Linked DNA regions of Homo sapiens: region 1 is linked to region 2. The links are contacts of gene promoters, found by promoter capture Hi-C in human tissues and cell types (Jung and others, 2019). All regions are on one chromosome and are shown on one strand. Each heading gives the region's core, a stretch centred on a gene start or on the middle of the fragment in contact. The rest is flanking DNA. Distances are from core to core; before and after follow the strand shown.

The links. The method cuts DNA at HindIII sites, captures the fragments that hold promoters and counts their contacts. A contact is called where the count stands out against the background at its distance.
Region 1: a fragment that was not itself captured here is called in contact with the fragment with the promoter of ZBP1 in region 2 in 1 of the 25 tissues and cell types used here (ovary).

Annotation. Positions count from the first base shown.
Region 1 is chr20:57,471,998-57,474,697 of GRCh38, reverse strand. No RefSeq gene overlaps it. Among named protein-coding and RNA genes, the nearest start is that of CTCFL, 52 kb to the left of the region's middle. RefSeq lists enhancers at 690-1,189, 1,190-1,691. The HindIII fragment of the contact is 7,450 bases long and covers 1-2,700 here.
Region 2 is chr20:57,619,115-57,621,814 of GRCh38, reverse strand. ZBP1 (Z-DNA binding protein 1) reads left to right here and starts at 1,389. Exons shown (of 8, transcript NM_030776.3): 1 at 1,389-1,553. The coding sequence starts at 1,520. RefSeq lists enhancers at 1,140-1,429, 1,560-1,609, 2,690-2,700. The HindIII fragment of the contact is 12,502 bases long and covers 1-2,700 here.

The DNA.
Region 1 (2,700 bases), core at 86-2,585, 150 kb after region 2:
TGGGGCTGCTGTAAACTGCCACAACTTCAGTGGCTTAAAACAGCACAAAGTGATTCTCTTACAGTTCTGGAAGTCAGAAGTCTAAGATGAGCTAAAATCCAAGTGTTGGCAGGGCTGCACTCCTTCTGGAGGTTATGGGGAAGAATCCATTTTCTTGCCTATTCTGGCTTCTAGAAGCCTGCGTTCCTTGGTTCATAGCCTCTTCCTCCATCCTCAAGGCCAGGAAAGACTGGTCTTGTCTTCCTCATTCTGACACAGACCCTCCTACCTCCCTTTTCCACATTTAAAGGGCCCCTGTGATTATACTGGACCCACCCAGCAACCCATGATAACTTCCCTCTCTTAAAGGCAGCTGATCGGCAACCCTAAATCTATCTGCCACTTAATTCCCCTGGCAAGGAAGGTAGCACATCACAGGTTGCAGGGATTAGGACATGGACATCTTTGGGAGCTATTACTCTGCCTACCTCAGCAAATTGGAAACAATTTTACCTCTCTGAGTCTGTTTCCTCACCTCTAAAAAGAGAATAGGAAATATCTAGCTCCCATGGACATTGCAGCAAAGAAAAAATAAATGGACCTGAAGCAAGGGCCTCAAACTGGGCACCCACAGGCTCCACTCAACCAAGGAGCATGATTCGCCTCCCATCCAATCTCCATGAGTTGCTAATATTTTTTAACTGGCAAATTTCACATTAAAATTCAGATTTCCTGTTTCTCTTAACTCGTAGGAGGCTCTCACCCACTGGATCTGCTTTCTGGGGTGTTGACAATCAGCTGTACTGAGCCGTGGCTGCCCCTTTGGGATGGGCCGTGGTTCCCCAGTTCACCACAGTCCCCACTTTTCCCTATTGTCTCTCCCTCAGTCCACTTCTTCCAATTACACACCCTGCCTGGCCCCCAGAGGGAGCTCGATTTGGGACATTTGCGAAGAAGCATTGGCAGGCAGAAGCAGCTTCATAAAGGATAGTTAATATTATTTCTATTCACTAAGATCCATTAACAGGGCAATTCTCAAGTTTGGCTGTGCATTAGAATTCCCTAGGGAACTTTAAAAACTGCTAGTGCCCAAGCCACACCTGCATGAAATACACGGGAACTCTGGGATGAGGCCCGGTTCAGGATTGCTGCAGCTCCCCAGGGATTCTGGCCAGGGCATTTTCAGACGCTCCCTGGGAGCTAGAGCTCAGGCAACGTGGAGCAGACGGAGCTCAGGTGCAAGGCTGTGGGGCAGAACTCGCCTCCCCAGCGTCCCCCCGCAGGCAGAGAGGAAGAGAGGGCCAGAGTGTGGATTGTGAAACCACTAATGAAACATGCCAGGCTGCAACAATGAGCTATGGCTGTCTGCACATCCGCTTCCTGCTGTGAAGAGCTGAGGGGCTGCCCGGACACTTGTGGAAGCTTTCAGAACTCAGTGAGTCCTTCACAGAGTGGTGGGGGCGAGTCCACAGCTTCCTTTTCTTCTCTCTGTACACTCCCAGGATGTAGGGACCTGTGAGGCCCCCCGGCTGCTTGTGCAGTGATCATCCTCCTCCTGCTCTTTATTCCAGAGATGGGAAATCTCTGCTGCACGGGTACCTGAAAGTTCTGGCAACTCGGATGCAGGATCAAAATGTGGTTCCATTGTTGGCGATGAACCATAAGCCATACCATTTATCATTATTTATTATTATTAGAGAGAGGGTCTTGCTCTGTTGCCCAAGCTGGAGTACTGTATTAGTCCATTCTCATGCTGCTAATAAAGACATAGCCAAGACTGGGTAATCTATAAAGGAAAGAGGTTTAATGGACTCATAGTTCCACATGGCTGGGGAGGCCTCGCAATCATGGCAGAAGGCGAATGAGGAGCAGTCACGTCTTACATGGCGGCAGGCAAGAGAGCTTGTGCAGGGGAACTCCTATTTATAAAACCTTCAGATCTTGTGAGACTTATTCACTACCACAAGAACAATACGGGGGAACCCATACTGTTCAGTTATCCCCCTGTGATTCAGTTATCTCCAGCTAGCCCTGCCCTTGACACATGGGGATTATTACAATTCAAGGTGAGATTTGGGTAGGGACACCACCAAACCATATCAAGTACAGTGGTGTGATCACTGCTCACTGCAGCCTTGAGCTTACAGGCACAAGCAATCCTCCCACCTCAGCCTCCCAAGTAGCTGGGACCACAGGTGCCCACCACCACACCTGGCTAATTTTTAATTTTTTCGCTATGTTGCCTAGGCTGCTATTGAGCTCCTGGGCTTAAGCAATGCCCCTTCCTTGGCCTCCCAAGGTATTGGGATTACAGGTGTGGTCACCGCTCCAGCCCCCATTTATTAAGTGTATTGAACAAATATTTATGGAACACCTGCTGTGTACCAGGTGCTATTCTAAGTGCAAGGAATAAAAGGGATGGAGTCCTTGCCTAAAGGAGTCAGTGAAATACCAGGTGGCACAGAGGGTGTCCATGCTGTGGAGGAAGGGCAGCAATGGGAGCAGGGAGCTCTAGGAAGAGGAGGGTGAGTTAATCATTTCTTAAGGGGGTGGTGAGAGAATTTGACAACTGAGCAAAAGGAGAGAGTCTTGTGAGAGAGGGAGGCCAGGCAGGGGACAGCAAGGGCCTGGGGTAGGGGTGGAAAGGGTGCCTAAGGACCATAAGCCACGCTGGCTCATGGGACCCTGATCCAGGATTCCAACAGGTGCTCACCTAATCCC
Region 2 (2,700 bases), core at 140-2,639:
CATGCGCTAGGTCCTTTGATTAAGTCCTTTTACACATGGGGAAACTGAGGCACAGAGGGGTTAAATAATTTGTCCGAGGTCACACAGCCGGTAAATGGCGGAGCCAGGTTTGGACCCAAGCATGCTGACCCAGGCTTGCATTCCGAACCACTCGGCTGCTGACCCCAGGCATCTGACTCTGGAATTAATAAGCAAGTTTTATGATGAGGCGGGGAACTCCACGCCATCTGTGCACTAAGGGTGATTCACCAGTGACTTCTGGGTGTTATAGATCAGGAAACACAATTGGGGAATGGACAGGACAAGCTCTGTCATGGACTCTGTGTGGCCTTGGACAAGTGATCTTGCCTTTCTAGCCTCAGTTTCCCCCCTGAGAAGAAGACAGAACTGGCCCCTACCCTGTAGATGGGTTGGAGGAGCACTTGAGATTGGAAAACGCATAATAGGTGTTCATTAAAGAGGCTCACATGGATACACACAAGAACAATCTCAGGGCCTTCACGCACCTAAATGTTCTGCCCCTAGTGTGGGCAAGGGAAACAAACTGGAAGAAGACAAGAAAAGCCACTGAGAGCTGGGGACGGTGCCTCTGTAGCACCTGTGAGTCCCCGAGGAGGAAGTACTACAGGAACCAGCGGGGCCGGGCGTGGGGGCTTGCGGCTGGAATCCCAGCACTGTGGGAGGCCAAGGCAGGCAGATCGCTTGAGCCCAGGAGTTTGAGACCAGCCTGGGCAACACGATGAAACCCCATCTCTACAGAAAATACAAAAATTAGCCGGGCATGGTGGTCTAGGCCTGTGGTCCCAGCTACTAGGGAGGCTGAGAGGTGGGAGGATCGCTGGAGTCCGGAAGGTCGAGGCTGCCGTGAGCCGTGATCACGCCACTGCACTCCAGCCTGGATGACAGAAACCCTGTCTCAAAAACAAACAAAAACACAGAAACCAGATAACCAGCCCCAGCCCCTCACATCATCAGAGTGATGCCACGCCCTGGCATCCCCCTCCACGTGGTGCATGCTCTTTTTTTTATTTTTATTTTCTTCAGTTCTCTGATGCTGATTCAGAAAATAAAAATGTAGAGGTCCAGGTGGGCTGTGCCTGGAACGGGGAAGGTGAGGGAAGTCCTCTGTCTCAAAGGCCTCTTCGGAGGACGCTCTGGTCTTGCCAAGTTTACAGCTCCTCCCTGTCAACATCAAGTCAGGTCCCCAACTCTGTCTTGCTCATCCACCTGGCTTCCACTTTTTTTTTCTTTCAAAAGACGAACAGAGAAGTTTCATTTTCTTTTTCTCCTGAAACCGAATCTGGCCGGCCTGGCTAGGCATCTATTTCCGGGCTGTAAGCAGCTGACACCTGCCCAGTGGAAGCTGGCATCCCTCCCCTTGTGGGTTCAGAGCTGCAAGAAGCACCAGGCTCGGCCACTTCAGAAGCCCCAGCCTCGACCTAGCCCACCCTCTCAGGGCCACAGTGCAGAAGCCTGCACACCTGCCAAGTCTCTCCGACTCCTTGCAGCTGCTGTCAGCATGGCCCAGGCTCCTGCTGACCCGGGCAGAGAAGGTACAGTACTTCTTCCTTCCAAGGACCAGCGGTAGCTCCCGGGGTGAGATTTCTACTTCTCTTTCCTCCTGTTTCGCTTGGTCCAGATCATGATGACAATAGCAGTATCCTAAAGAATAGTAGACCAGCTGGGCGTGGTGGCTCACGCCTGTAATCCCAGCACTTTGGGAGGCGAGGTAGGTGGACTGTTTAAGCTCAGGAGTTTGACACTAGCCTGGCCAACATGGCGAAACCCCATCTCTACTAAAATTACAAAAATTAACCGGGCATGGTGGCGCATGCCTGTGATCCCAGCTACTCGGGATGCTGAGGCTGGAGAATCGCTTGAACCCGGGAGGTGGAAGTTGTAGTGAGCTGAGATGTCGCCATTGCACTCCAGACTGGGTGACAGAGTGAGATTCCATCTCAGAAAAAAAAAAAAAAAATAGAAAGGGACAGCATAGCCATCCCCCTTTGACAGCTGACTGTGCCCCAGGCACCTCGAAACATGCTTTCCAAGCATTTCCTGATGGCCTGCAGGGACAAGTGCCATGTCATTCCCATTTTATAGATAACTGAGGCCCTGAGAGGTGAAATGACACTCTCAGGGTAACACAGCTGGCGAACGCTGGTGTTAGCGTCTGAACACCCATGTCACAGTCATATCGAGAACAAAGCGGTTTGCTTTGATGAGATACATGTGTGCCTTTGTTCCCCCTTGTTGCATCCTTTCCTCAACTAACATTTCATTCATTTTATTCCTGGAAGAGTTGCAATGAAAGCCAATAGTGTATCGAGTAATTGCTGTTCTCTAGGGTCTCCACTAAGCGCTGTGGACTGTAGGTGAAGTGTGGTTTTGCGGTTTGGGGGATGTGTTTGTTTTGTTTTTAATCCTCACCACAATCTTTGAAGTAGTTATTACTGTCTCCATTTCACAGAAGAGGAACCTGAAGCCGGAGGGGAGGTCACACAGCTAGTAGTTGGCAGGGCTAGGAGCTCAAACCCAGGAAATCAGCCATCAGAATTTTAAAAAACCAACACAGAGTGTGCCCCGGGAGGGCTAATGTCAGGGTGTGGCCCAGGAGCCGGGCTGACCGCGGAGGTCCTGTGGAGCTTCCTCTTCGGGGACTCACGGGTGCTGACGCAGGTTCCGGACTCAGCCCTCGCT